Regions from separate parts of the Homo sapiens genome. Here all the other regions are linked to region 2. The links are contacts of gene promoters, found by promoter capture Hi-C in human tissues and cell types (Jung and others, 2019). All regions are on one chromosome and are shown on one strand. The core of a region is centred on a gene start or on the middle of the fragment in contact, and the rest is flanking DNA. Distances in the headings are between cores, read along the strand shown. Region 1 holds the start of TRC-GCA15-1 (tRNA-Cys (anticodon GCA) 15-1). Region 2 holds the start of ZNF212 (zinc finger protein 212). Region 3 has its middle 9.8 kb from the start of TRC-GCA19-1. Region 4 has its middle 4.2 kb from the start of TRS-AGA5-1.

What was found. The method cuts DNA at HindIII sites, captures the fragments that hold promoters and counts their contacts. A contact is called where the count stands out against the background at its distance.
Region 1: a contact is called between a fragment that was not itself captured here and the fragment with the promoter of ZNF212 in region 2, in 1 of the 25 tissues and cell types used here (dorsolateral prefrontal cortex).
Region 3: a fragment that was not itself captured here is called in contact with the fragment with the promoter of ZNF212 in region 2 in 3 of the 25 tissues and cell types used here (dorsolateral prefrontal cortex, hippocampus and spleen).
Region 4: a contact is called between a fragment that was not itself captured here and the fragment with the promoter of ZNF212 in region 2, in 1 of the 25 tissues and cell types used here (dorsolateral prefrontal cortex).

What each region holds. Positions count from the first base shown.
Region 1 is chr7:149,583,466-149,587,130 of GRCh38, forward strand. TRC-GCA15-1 (tRNA-Cys (anticodon GCA) 15-1) reads left to right here and starts at 1,260; the gene lies at 1,260-1,331. It also overlaps the pseudogene ZNF767P. The HindIII fragment of the contact is 5,704 bases long and covers 1-3,665 here.
Region 2 is chr7:149,238,139-149,241,839 of GRCh38, forward strand. ZNF212 (zinc finger protein 212) reads left to right here and starts at 1,513. Exons shown (of 5, transcript NM_012256.4): 1 at 1,513-1,664. The coding sequence starts at 1,641. RefSeq lists an enhancer at 1,280-1,574. The HindIII fragment of the contact is 24,745 bases long and covers 1-3,701 here.
Region 3 is chr7:149,621,253-149,624,689 of GRCh38, forward strand. It overlaps the pseudogene ZNF767P. Among named protein-coding and RNA genes, the nearest start is that of TRC-GCA19-1, 9.8 kb to the left of the region's middle. RefSeq lists silencers at 3,026-3,125, 3,146-3,437. The HindIII fragment of the contact is 3,946 bases long and covers 1-3,437 here.
Region 4 is chr7:149,602,467-149,605,967 of GRCh38, forward strand. It overlaps the pseudogene ZNF767P. Among named protein-coding and RNA genes, the nearest start is that of TRS-AGA5-1, 4.2 kb to the right of the region's middle. The HindIII fragment of the contact is 3,579 bases long and covers 1-3,307 here.

The sequences.
Region 1 (3,665 bases), core at 518-3,017, 350 kb after region 2:
GTGACTCTCTGCTAATAAGCAATAATTCTGTTCCTTTCTAATTCACCTTTTCTCCGTTTCCCACCATGCCTGGTTCACGCTTTGCCCTTCTTCCCAAGTAATGATTCCCACCCTACCTCCTTTATTCTCTTTGGATGACCTGTTTTCTACCTGACTGAGAAGACCAAGATATAGAGTTCCCTGAGCATCCTCTGCTTCTCTGCATCTTCACCTTCTCCTCAACCCCTCCAGGGTAAGAGAGAAAGCCTGGTTTTAACCAATTCCCTGCCAATGGATATTTTGATGGTCTCCAGTGTTTGCTGTGAGGAATTAAAAAACCGCTATCATGAATCTCCACATACATGTGTCTTCATGCAATTATAGGAATATTTTTGAAGGATAAATTACCACAAGTGATACTCTGTAGAGAATCATCTTTTCTATGTTTTCTTTTTTTTTTTGTTTTTATTTTAGGTTCAGGGGTACATATGCAGGTTTGTCATATAGGTAAGCTCATGTCATGTAGGCTTGGTGTACAGATTATTTCATCAGCCACGTACTATGCATATGTATTTTTTCTGATCTTCTCTCCTTCCACCATCCACCCTCAAGTAGGTGCCAGTGTGTGGCATTCCCCTCTCTGTGTCCATGTGTTCTCATCATTTAGTTCCCACTTGTAAGTGAGAACATGCATTATTTGATTTTCTGTTCCTGTGTTAGTGGCTAAGGCTAATGCCCTTACAGGTCCATCCATGTTGCTCCAAAGGAAATGATCTCATTCTTTTTTATGGCTGCGTAGTATTCCACAGTGAATATGTGCCACATTTTTAAAAGACTAAGTATTATTTTTTGAGTATTTTTTTTTAACAAAAGCAATTTGCTTTTCCCTTGACAAATTATCATGAACAGTATTCTACGTCAAATACAAGTCTCCAGACACAGGCTCTGGTTTCCTTTCAGTGCTGGAGAAGGTGGTGTCACCTAGTTAGAGTTCCATCCCCAGCCTAGCACACCTCACATGATGCTCAACAATTGCTACTGTCTAAGAGAATTATCTGGATGACTTGAAGGGTCTCTCCATTTATAAAGCTCAACAAGGCTACCAGGGTGTCCTTAACCAGGTACACACAAAAGTGATGGAGAAAGAAGTATCAGTGACAGGAGGGAGGCCAGAATTCAGAGAAACAACCGGCGTAGACATCCAAGCCGGAAGAGCTCGGTCTTGCTCTTGCTGTGCTGACACATGAAAAGGGTGTTAATTACACTGTCTACCTATGACTGGGGGTATAGCTCAGGGGTAGAGCATTTGACTGCAGATCAAGAGGTCTCTGGTTCAAATCCAGGTGCCCCCTACACTGTTCTACTTTTTAATCACCAAAGTGGGTCCTGGGTCATAAGCTCCACCCAATCCACCCTGCAAAAAAAATGACACAGCCTATCTAATCTCTGACCCACAGCATCTCTGAAGTGCAGACTCAATAGCCCTCAGGTGATTTCATGGGTTTTAAAGTTTGTAAGGCACATCTGTCTCCTGCAGCCCTCTGGATACCACTCCAGGACTTTTGCAGAGTTCTCCAGAATCTCCCCAGGCACATCCATGTGATTCCCAAGAGAGGGCTGGGCCATGTCTCTAAGTCCTGCTGTATTCTCCACAGCACCCAGCTTCCACTGTGGCACAGGAGAACCTGAACCAGCCACAGTTTCATGCCCGCCTCCAACAGGTATGAGAAATCTAATGAGCTTAGATTTCTAAGTGTGCTGCACCCTGGACTTTGGCTCTGGGCCCTCAGGTTCTGGATTTCCCATCTGGGGCTGCTGCAGACTCACACCCTGGCCTACCCAGACCAAGGACTGGGGAAAAGCAGGATTCTGGGAGGCTCTGTGAGACTGTGGGCAAGGAGCGAGATGATAGAGGAAGTCAGCTGGGACTACCCAGAGGACTGACCTGATCCCATCAACCTCTTCTCTCTCCTCCATGCAGACAGATACAGATCATGGGCTCCAGCAAGGGAAAGGAAGCTGGTGTCAGATTCCAAAATCAGTAAATAAAAATAAGAATCCGTAAAGGGCACCCTGATTGGAACCTTTTGGTCTGTCCCCTAAGGCTCATCTCATTATTATGTGATGAAAACCTTGCAGTCTGTAGCCTTTTGGGTGAGAGGAGCACACCATGGGTAGTAACTGTGGTCTCTCGAGCCCCCTCTGATGGTGGTGGTAGCTGAACAAAGCAAGATGCAGGATGTGGTCTTTTCTGGAATATTCTGATGTTCCCAAAAATACCAAACCTCCAGGAGCTTCACAGATGCAGCAGAGCCACCAATAATCCCCAATTATGTGGATATTTCCCACTCCTCAGTGCAGTTTCCAGGCAAATGGCTGAAGGGGCTATTATGGGAAATCTGGCAGGAGGATTCACTGTCCATGACTGGGTATTTTGGCAGAGTACTTTTCTCAAGCTTGGCTTTCTCGTCATCAGGGGAGGCAGGTTCTTTGAGCAGATTCAGACCTGGGGAATGGGTCAGAGGCCAGGAACCTCCATTGTGCCGGCTATGGTGGTAGCTCAGGTCTACACGTCTAGGGGACCATGATGGGCTCCCCATTGTCAGGCCTAGAATCCTCCCACTGATGAGTCACAGCCAAGACCTGTGTGGCAGAGACCATGGAATAACATTCTGTGGTAAAGTGTCCACTGCTTGGCCTCTGACACCCTACGATCCTCCTAGCCCCACTGAAATCAGGAGCTTCCTTTCCGCTATCATCACTCCCACCAGCATTTTTGTCTACAGAGAACAGCTACCAGGATTCTTTTCATGAATGTAGAAGCTCCACACACCTAGGTATTTTTCAAGCCAGGGCAAGTCACGTGTGATAAATCCACTCCAGCTTACCTACCCCCTGAAGCCAATGTATTCTTTCTACATTATAGCAAGAAATTCCTAGTATCTCAAATGCATTTAGAATTGGCCTCCTGTGGCTGGGCGCGGTGGCTCATGCCTGTAATCCCAGCACTTTGGGATGCCGAGGCGGGCAGATCACGAGGTCAGGAGATCGAGACCATGCTGGCTAACATGGTGAAACCCCGTCTCTACTAAAATTACAAAAAATAAGCCGGGCATGGTGGCGGGCCCCTGTAGTCCCAGCTACTCGGGAGGCTGAGGCAGGAGAATGGCGTGAACCCGGGAGGCAGAGCTTGCAGTGAGCCGAGATCGCGCCACTGCACTCCAGCCTGGGAGACAGAGCGTGACTCCGTCTCAAAAAAAAAAAAAAAAAAAGAATTGGCCTTCTGTGAATCCAGGCTTAGGTCCACCAACTGAGCAAACAGGTTTATCCCAGCTGCTCCAGCTATGGTATCTTAAATAGAATTTTAATTGGGAACACTCCTAATAAAAAAATTCAGACTCATTTAAAGTTATACCCTTTCTACTTTATAAAGTATTCCAAGAATCTACATCCACACATGCTCTTTAAGTTTTTGCTGACAGACATTAGCCAGTTGGAAATGATTTTGGTGTGTGAGTCTTTGCCTCCCAGCAACTGGTGCCCAGGCTCAACTGAGATCTTACTCTCACTGTAAGTCAAGGGACAATGAGGATGGGGAAACCAATCTCTTGCAGTGAAAACCCTTCCATCTGGGCTGGTCGGCTTTTGCGGGAAGAAGGGGCAGGCTTGGAGATTAGGGAGAGCTG
Region 2 (3,701 bases), core at 263-2,762:
TTTCTGTATCTGACACCAAGAGTTTGTTGGTCTGAGAGATTAGGTCAGACCCTCTGGACAGGATCTCCCTGACTGACCGGTTTCTTCAGCCTGGCCCATTCTTTCTCTAGATTTATTAATGATTCAGTGACGTGCCCGTTGATCTAGTTGCCCTGGAAATAATGCCTCTGTTTGAGATGACATTTCATATCCTTACACTCTGATTCACCATTCAATCATTTACAAATATGAACACTTCTGTGTACAACAAATGGAGGATACAGTAGACAGACATTTCAGTGGAAGAGATACAGATAATTAATATGTAAATGAGTGAAAAAGAGAGATTACTTCAGATGGTGATAAATGGTATGAAAAATTTCCAGCAGGGTAACGAGATTGAGTATTGAGATGGAGGATGGTGTGGGGCTGTAGAAAGGGGGGACTGGGGATATCTCTCTGAGGATGTAGAATCTGAACTGAGCCCTGCATGTGAGGAAGGAGCCAGTCATGATCTTAAAAGTTTCGTTCTCCGCCGGGTGGGGTGGCTCACACCTGTAATCCCGGCGCTTTGGGAGGCTGAGGTGGGCGGATCACCTGAGGTCGGGAGTTTGAGACCAGCCTGACCAACATGGGGAAACCCCGTCTCTACTAAAAATACAAAATTAGCCAGGCGTGGTGGCACATGCCTGTAATCCCAGCTACTAGGGAGGCTGAGGCAGAAGAATCGCTTGAGCCCGGGAGGTGGAGGTTGCAGTGAGCCGAGATTGCGCCATTGCACTCCAGCCTGGGCAACAAGAGCGAAACTCCATCTCAAAAAAAAAAAGTTTCGTTCTCAGAGGAAACACTTCACGCCTATCCTGTGAAGTGGAAGTTCATTGCTTGTCTCCAGAGAGACAATGGTATAAATTAGGCAGCTATGGTTGCCGTAGTGTTGCTGGTATTGGGGATTAAGTACATGGCGATTAAATGGTCATGTGGCCGTGCTTTCCAACAAAAATTCCAGACACATCGTCTTACATGTAGCATGAGGACTGGAAATATTTGAAATCAGGGTTGTCTTGGACTTTCCAAGGCACATGATTACCATAATTAACAGGCTACAGAGGGCTGGCCTGGGCCTGACCCCACGCTCCACACTGTTGATATGGAAACTGTTCCCAGTTTCTAAAAAGCCAAATAACAGGTGAACTTTTGGAATAAAATCACTTGCCTTTTGGAACCATATTTCTTTTCCCCAACAACATTACATGTTCTTTCCTCAGCAAAAAGTCTGAGTTGTACACATTTTTGAATCCCTCAAAGCATTTAGCAGAGTGCTGGGCATACGGAAGACAGCAGGATCCCGTGGCTTTGCCTGAAACGCGGAACCTGGTCTTGACTTTTGAGTGACTGAGCCCTCCTGGTGCCCGCACTCTGGCCGGGAGTGCCAAGCAGCGTTCTCCCTCCCGCCGCACGGGGGCACAATGGGAAGCCTGCACAGTGAGGAAGAGCGGCTGGAGCCGGTCTTGTGCCGGGGAGGTCGCTGCTCCCAGAATGCACCTGGCATCAACACGGCGGCGGCGGCGGCGGCTTCCAACAGGCTCTGGGGCGCCGAGCGGACAGGAACGCAGCACGGGGGCTCCGAGGCGGGGTCTGGGTGTTGAGGGGCGACTGGAGCCATGGCGGAGTCGGCGCCTGCTCGGGTAAAGAGGCACCGGCGCGCTGGCTCGAGGGCGCGTTGGGGATGGCGGAGTCCCCTGCCGGGGGCGGGGCTTCGCGGTTTGGACGCCGCCGGGGTCTTGGTTTCCCGGGGCTGCCGTTGGCGCGGGTGAACGCGGACCCTCCTCTTCGCGACCCCAGTGCTCTGCCCTTTTTTCCCTCCGCTTCCTTCTGCAGCGGGGTCGGAGCCTCGGCGCCGTGCGCCCTTGCCCAGAAACTTCTCTGACGCTTGCTTTAGGTTGGTGGATTTGTGACCCTGCCCACACATTTTCTCTTTCGTGCCAAAAGAGCCCGTTCCCAGGTTGGAGTGTTTCCAGATTGGAAACGGTCTCCGTCGCTACGAGTGAGCTCTCCCGCTGCCCGGGAGACCCCAGGACTTGCCTCTCTGCGACCACCTCCTCTTCGGTCCGATGTGTTGTCGGTTTTTCCAGTGCTGCAGATTTCTGTCTGGGGGTTGCAGCCACAGGTTGAAGTCAGCCTGGGCTGCTTCTCCTTGGGGACGGATGTTATCTACAGTGCAGTTGCTGCATTTTGTTTGTAGAGCTGCCCAAACTCTCTCCTTCACCCCCCCCCCAACACCCCCCTCCCAGCCCACCGACCATCCCCATTCTGGGAATGTCAAGATACGGAGTTTGGTGTGAGGAAAATCCTATTTGTGGAGTCACGAAGCTTTCAGCTGTCCATTTGGGTGATTTTAGGCAACTGTGTTCGCTTCTCTGGGTCTCTTTCGTTTTCTTAACTGTAAATCGAGAGTGTTGGAGTAGTTGCTAGATGATCTCCAAGGCTTTAAGTTTCCTTCCAGCTCCGACATTCTCATACTGTTCCCATACTGTTTCAAAGTAGTGGTTAATTTAACAACACCAGAGGGTTTGCAACGGAAGGGGCAGCTGGAATTGAATTGACTTTTAATGAAGTGTTCCTTGGTCTAGAAACACTTCGAGAATCATGTTAGATCTTTGTGAGAATGGAGGGCTAAGGAAATTCTGTGGGGAAAATTTGACCATGAGCAGGGTGCGCTATATTTGATTCTTGTAGAAAGTGCGTTAAGAACTAAGAACGGAGAGATTGGGAGACTTAGAGAACACAGTATTTGCTTTCAAGGAAGTTAACAGTTGAATTGGGAAGACAAGACACAAATGTTTACAATATTAACCTCATCTGACTCCTATAAGCTAGGCTGAGCCAGTCAAAGACTTGGCTTTTCCACAAGATCTAGTTAGTGTTAGAGTCCGGCGAGAGGATTCTGCCACAGTTCTTCCTGCCAGGTCACTCCACAATTACCTACATGTCGTCAGTAGACCTTGTTAGGAAGAAGCCTTAAAGGTCCACCACAGGCCAGGCGCAGTGGCTCATGCCTGTAATCCCAGCACTTTAGGAGGCCGAGGAGGGCGGATCACGAGGTCAGGAGTTCAAGACTAGTCTGGCCAATGTGGTGAAACCCGGTCTCTACTAAAAATACAAAAATTAGCCGGGCGTGGTGGCGGGTGCCTGTAGACCCAGCTACTCGGGAGGCTGAGGCAGAATAATCGCTTGAACCTGGGAGGTGGAGGTTGCAGTGAGCTGAGATCGTGCTATTGCACTCCAGCCTGGGTGACAGAGCAAGACTCTGTCTCAAAAAAAAAAAAAAAAAAAAAGTCCACCACAATCCCAAACTATGCCTTAAATAACATGAATCTGTCGTTGTAGAACTTATTCAAATTGTTCTTGAGCCTGTTTCTCTTCTCAGACATTTCAGGTGTCTGTCATTTAACAGTAAGCTCAAGTAGGTGCCCTGATGAAACAACTGAAAATGCTGGAAAACCCTGCACATAAATGCATTTGAAATGTATTTTAGTAAAGAATACTTGGAGCCCCAAAACTTAAGCGAAAGAGGAAACTCGAAAGTGATAGAGTTCTGAAGCCAACTTTGAGGGCATTGGCCAAACATTCATCTTTGGTGTTTATGATTCAAGGGACCTGCAAAATGGAACACACATCTCAGAGCCTAAGATGGAAAGTCTAAGAAGCTCCCTAACCCAATC
Region 3 (3,437 bases), core at 618-3,117, 380 kb after region 2:
GGGCTACCTTAGGGGACTCCCCCTTGCTGCCCGGGGGCAGCCGCAGGATCCAGAAGTTCCTGTTGTGCAGCAGGTTCTCCACGTTCTCCAGCCGCCTCTGCAGCAGCCCGTACTCCTGCAGCAGGGTCCCCAGCACGGCCCACTTGCCCTCCAGCTGGTTCCCGAACTCCACGGCTGTCTTCTCGCAATCAGCCAGCTTCTTCTCGGCCATCCCGGTTTGACCTTCTAGGGAAAGCAGGTGAGCAGCCTGCGATTCAATCTTCCTCTCCATGGCCTGAATCGTGGCTGCCATCGTCCACGGAGAAATCTTTCAGAAACAAAAGAGAAACTGGCATCATTCATTCCATCCACTGTCTTCACTGAGCCCCTCTCTCCCTAGGCACGGGGGAGTTGGGCTGGGAGTCCATATGTGTGGACAAGTGGGGCTATCCTATACCACATGCCAGATCTCAGGTTGGCCATCACCTGCTTGGGTATGTTAGGTCTATGTCTGGGTGGGTGCCTTTACTCCAGGCCTCTGCAGCACAATGCAGACCCTTATCACGGTGCTTATCACCCTACACAGTAATTTCCTACCCACGCCTACACTGTTGGCTCCCTGAACATGGTATTGCACCTTTTCACACCACGGTCCTTGACACATGCCTGGCACTCAGTGCAGTTTTGCTACGTATAGTGTGACTTAGCATTGCTCGGTATTTTAGTGGGGAAATGGTAAACTGCAGATTTACTAGAGCCCAGCCTGCACCTCCCCTCATGATTACACAGGAACTGTCTACTGATGATGACCCAGCCAAAAAAAAAAAAAACCACAGCTCGTTCACTGAAACCGCACAAACAAGAGTACTGCTCATTTTTTTTAAAGCATCTTATGTCCCCTTTTAATAAACATAAAAATCTAATGGCCAGTTCCTCTTCCCCCAGGACAGTCTCATTTTGTCCCCTTCCCATCTGCCCCTCCCCACAAGCTAAAATCCCCATGACTGCAAATCTCCATCAGTCCAGAGTTTTTTGACACTGCATGAGCCCTACAAGATTCTTTCTCTTTCCCAATTCCCATCTCCTCAAGGTAAAAATGATGGCTTCAATCATTTTTGTAGCTGTACTAGGAGTGGTGACATACACTCTGGTGAGGAAAATGGACATATGCCACAAACTTACACTTATATATGGGCAAAAACCATCTTAATTCGAGATGAGGGGCTTCCCTGTCCTTGGAAACATTCACATGGTGTATCAGTGACTGGCAGCTGGGGACAAGGAAGAATGAGCACATTTTGCCTTGGGTGGGGAGCTGGACTATTTGAGCCACCCACATCTGAATGTGGGACCTATAGGGCAGAGAGAAGCTCCTGGTATCCATGCCCAAGGATCGACGCCCCCTTACAACATTCTGCAAAATAATTCCTCAACAAAAGGTTGGTGATTGTTTGCAAAATGAAGAAGTGGCTACTAGAAACCAGTGTGGATGCACTCAGGGAAAGTCACTGAGAACTACAATGTGAATAGATACCTCAAAAAATAGAGACAAAAGGAGAGTTTGAGCAGAAGCAGAAAAAAACTTCTCCAGGACAGTACTCAAGGGCCTGTCTGGCTGTTTGGAGGGAAACAGGACCCAAAGAAGGTAGGACTCTAAAAGGTCTTCAAGGCTGGGAGGTTCTGGACAAGCTGAACTGTTTCTAGGCGAAAACCCCAATGTGGATGGCGAGTCTTGCTCTCAAGGAGTAGGTGGTCCTACAAGTACCTGGGTGGGCCCGCTTGGTTCTGGGTTTGAGTCTGCCCTCCACCTAAGGCCACTGTTCCCTCACCTCTCCTTTCTTAGATCAATCCCTGCCACGTGAAGTCGAACGCCAAGAGTTTACTCCAGAAGCTTCCTTTCAACTGGTCACCAGCTCCCCATCCACTGAAATCCTACCCATCCTCCACGTGCATTATTACAGTCTTTGTGTGGCATGAAAGGGACCTCTGCATAAACTACTTTATTAAGAAAATATTAGTCTTTTACTCATGGATAATAAAGTACATGGTTTTCTCACAATTCTGATGGGGCCAGGAAACCCTGTGTAAGGCCTTCACACTATGTGGTGGGAGGTGTCGACTGTGCGCTGCTCACTCCAGCCCAGCTTCTTACTGACAAGTGGCTGGAATATGTGGGGCTGTCCTTGGACTCCTGCCAGGAAGCCGAAACTCTTTGCTTGAGAGGAGCTGATGGTAAGAGGAGCCCGATCCCTCACTGGCCGCCCACCCGCAGGATGAAGTCCTGGCATGCAAGCCCCTTCCTAGTCTCTCTCTGCAGACTCCTTTCCCACTGCCTCCAAACCAAAACCATCTTCTCCAGGCTCATGGACTCCTTTCTGTGCCTGCACACGCCCTGCACTGTCCCGTCTCTCTGCGCCTTTGCCCAGGCACTCCTCCCTCCCTGAAAGCACCACCGGTCTAGCTGGGCCTGAAATCCTAGCCGTCCCTAAAAGCCCGGCTCAAATCACAGAGGCGCAGAGCATCAGGCCAGGAGGGGTGGACAGCGGTACCAAGAGGCCCCCTGACACTCCTTCCCCCGGAGCCCACCGCAAGCTTCCACCTGGGCGCCAACACTCACCCCTTCCTATTTTGCACAATTATTGCCCGCGTACCTGCCTGCCTGGTCCTTGAACACACAGCCACTGTGTGTCTTTTCACACTTCCAGGTGTGCAAGCCTGGGCAAGTTAACTTCTCTAAGCCCCAGGTTTTTCTTTTGCATGACAGAGATAACACCAGTACCCATCCCACAGGCTTGCTGTGAGGACAGAAGGACAGACTAAGGCCTCAACAGGACTTGGTGCAGTACCTGGCTCTATATTCCCTTCCGCGCCGACCCTGGGGAGCTGGGCACGTAAGGGGTGTCGGTATACGCGGATTCGAAGCCTCACAACTCCCAGGTACCACTAAGCCGCTGGGGGGAGCTGGGGGAGGGACCCACAGGCCGAGCGCCAAGCAGAGAAAAGAGCCTCGGGTGGGGGGACGCAGATGTAGGGTTCAGCGGCTGGGGCGGGGGCAGGAAGCCCCGGAGGGGCCAAGGATCTTGGCGTGGGGCGGCCCGGGGCGGGGACAACCGTTCCGCCAGCGCTCGGGCTCGGCCCGGAGTGGGGGGCCCGGCTGGCAAGCGCAGTAGGCCCCGGCAGACGCCGCGGCCCTGTTCCCCGGAGCCCCAGGCGCGGTAGTACGGCTCGGCTCCCGCAGCCCCCGTGTGCCGGGCCCGGGTCGCCCGGGGAATCCAGGCCGCGAGTTCGTGCGCGCGCTGGTCGCCCTTACCGGAGCTGCGGCCGCCTCCTCCATGGCCCTGCGCTGTCCCCCGCGGCCCAGATAAAGTCGTCGCCGCTGCTGCGCGCGGCCCCACGCAGGGCCCGCCTCCCGGTGCTCTCCGCAGGCGGCGCCCGCCCAGCCCTGTCTCTGCCGCCGC
Region 4 (3,501 bases), core at 268-2,767, 360 kb after region 2:
AACGTTATCATATAAATCACTGCGGAAGTCAGTGTTTCCCGAGGCTGTCAGGCCAGGAGCGGAGAGGAGTGGCTGGCTGCTGGCTGCCTTCTGAGAAGGTGCCCAGGGCTACAAGGCAAAGGCCTGTGGGTAAAGGAGAAAATTCCAGCAGGAAAGAAAGGCAGTTTGAAGAAGAGACAGTTTACCAGCTCCTATGACAAGAGCAGAGGCGGGGCCTTGGCACAGCTGAGGAGGTGAAAAGGAGTTAACCCAAGTGTTCCTCCAAGTCTTCCTTCTAGAAAGGACAGGGTTCTGCCTGCCATCAGGAAGGTCACGTGGGAGGCTGGACACAGTGGCTCATGTCTCTCATCCCAGCACTTTGGGAGGTCAAGGCAGGAGGATCGCTTGAGACCAGGAGTTTAAGACCAGCCTGGGCAACATAGTGAGACTTCACCTCTACAAAAAATAAAATACATTAGCTGGGTATGATGGTACACACCTGTGGTCCCACCTACTTGGGAAGCTGAAGTGAGCTATAATTGTTTCACTGCACTCCACTCTGGATGACAGGAAAACACCCTGTTACTTAAAGACAAAAATGAATCAAGTGGGGTTGTTGTCTAGCAACATATTCTGGTCCTTGAAACTATGTTAACGCTGGCCCTCTTAAGGCTTTCGGGGATTCCAAAATCTACTCAGCTACCGCCTTCTCACTATTTCTTGGAGTCGCTCCTTCTCTATCATTCTCCATTAATATTAATTGAAGAAGTGAAAGCTGGAAGAATCACCTTCTGTCCTAGATTGTAGTTGTGTTGGAACACTGGACCAGGAGAGCCAGGCCCAACTCTGTCATTAAGTGTTTTAGAACAGACACCTCAGTCACACAAAGTTTCTCTTGTATGTGCCCACCATAAACAGTTACTGGAGGATGACTCTCAAGGCCATTCTAGTGGCTGCTGGCAGTGCTTTTCCAGCCTGCTGCCCATAACTAAGGACTCAAGGCAGGGAAGACACAGGCACGGGGGTTATCTGAGGAGCGGGGACTGCCTCTTGCTATGCACAAGGTCAATGAGTTTTCACTGAGGTAGACCTGGCAGCTCCTAGGAGCTTCCATTGTGAAGTGGCAACACACAGGTGACTGGTCATCTGGGTGTGACCGCACAAGTCAAAGGCATTAATTGACCCCCACAGCAGCAGGAAGGGGTATAGCTCAGGGTTAGAGCATAAGACTGCAGACCGAGAGGCCACCAGTTTGATTCCAGATGCCCCCTCCGCATTTTCAATTTTGACATTTTTACATAGGTGCCCACATTTTAAGTTCTTCCTTATTAGACACTTAGACACTAGGGTAAATGTTTCATTTTTCTTTTTTTTTTTTTTCTTCTGAAACCAGCAAATGGTGAGGCTAGAATGTGGTGGTTCTTAACCCCAGGTATAAACTAGAATCACCTGAAGAGTCCGTAAAAGTGCCACTTCCCGGGCCCCACCCCAGACCAATTAAATCGGAACATCTAGAGTGGGGCCCAGGCTGGTGAAAGCTTCCCAGGGGGCTCTAGACTGCAGCTAAGGGCAAGACCCCGCTTTAGCAGAGCTTCCAAGAAGCCTCCTTAGCCCAAGACTGCATTGTTCCCACTCTGCCTCTTCTTATTCATCCTTATTTGAACCCCGAATATCTAGAGAAAGGTCTCAGTTAATTAGGAAAGTGAATTTTGCCAAGGCTGCGGATGCACGTCTGTGACACCGCCTCAGGCGAGTCCTGACCACCTGTGCCCAAGGTGGTAGGGGCACAGCTTGGTTTTATACATTTTAGGGACACACGAGCCATCAATCAATATGTATAAGATGTACACTGGTTCCATCTGGAAAGGTGGGACAATGCCAGGTGAAGGTGGGACAACTGGAAGGTGGGAGGGGGCTTCCAGGTCATAGGTAGAGACGAAAGGTTGCATTCTTTTGCGTTTCTAATGAGCCTCTCTAAAAGAGGCAATCTGATACAGATTTATCTCATAAGCAAGCAGAGCGGTGACTTTGAATAAAATCAGGTTTGCCCTAAGCAGTTCCCAGCTTGACTTTTGCCTTTAGCTTAGTGATTTGGGGGCCCCAAGATTGATTTTCATTTCACACTTATGTGGACAGCACTTAAAACTAGACCAGAACAGCATCTTCCAGGAACAAAGCCTCTTTCTGCATTTCCTAGTTGTACCCCTTCTGGATCCAGTCATTCTGCCTGGGATGGGGTAGTACCGGTCTTCTATTTCCAAGGCAAACCACCAAGATCTATTGCTCAATGAGTAAGCCCTTATAAGGCCAAGACAGTTTGCAGAGGATGAAATGTCAACATGTTAAAGTATAAGTAAAAGTTCTACGTTGTGTTCAGATGTTCCAATTATCAACGGCAATTTTATGTCACAGTTAAGCTTTAAAGGCGAACTTCTGCAGAAGGGATCACTGAATTATATCAACCATCTCAAAAACTAGAGGATGTCATGGCGTTCTATGCTTTAGAGAACAAATAGCTTTTTTGACACAAATCTTAAAATTCATGGAGGTTCAGCTATACAGCATAGAATTCAGAAGCACAATTCATGATTTTTAGTATCCCTTATACTAATCATGTTTTATGAACCTTTTTAAAAAGTATCTAAAATACATTTAATAATTCAGATTTATGTACACAACAGAAGTTTATATTTTAGATAGGTTAAAAACATGTTCCTGTAATAAAACTATCTCAAAGCAAGAAAGTCTTACTATCTTTACATTGAATGGCAGGAAAACACAACAGAGAAGCAGGCATTGAAGACAGAGCCTGGTCAAGTGTAGTGTCACTTGAGGCTCTGTCTAATTTGATCATTTAGCAAATGGCGCTTTGCTCTACTCCTCTGAGTTGAAAATATTCTGCATCCTGTGACTCTCCTTATTAGTATAAGATGTAGTGGCCTGAAAAACAGAGCTTCTTTTATTTTCAATGATGTGCTGCATAATTTCCTATTCATTAAAGTAGATTCCTTTTGTTAACAAGAGATGTGAACTTTTTATTTAGTACTCCCTGCCAACCCCTCCAAAAAAAAGTGGCATTGGTAACTCAAAGGATAAATGCTAGAGGGGATGGGCACCCATTCCCCATGATGAGCTTATTTCACATTGCATGCCTGTTTCACAACAGTTCATATACCCCGTAAATATATACGCTCACTAGATACCCACAAAATCTTAAGGTTTTTAAGAAGTAGCTTTTGCTGTTCCAGTTTCACAAACACTTAGAGCTTTGGCCTAGAACTTGGGTACTTGCCCTTTTCCCGTCCCTGCCCTCCAATGCCTTCTATTAGTGGAAACGGTCTCTCGGGGCAGTCTCCTTCCTGTATCCCCATTACTGTTTCAGCTCCTCCACCCAAGCCCGCCAGCCCTCCAGCTACTCTGTAAACAGTCTCCTTCCTCCTTAGCCTTTCCCTGCAAGTCTGCCTTTTTATCCATCCTTGTACACCTGAAGGCCAGCTTTCCCCTGAAGCCATCCCTCCCCTT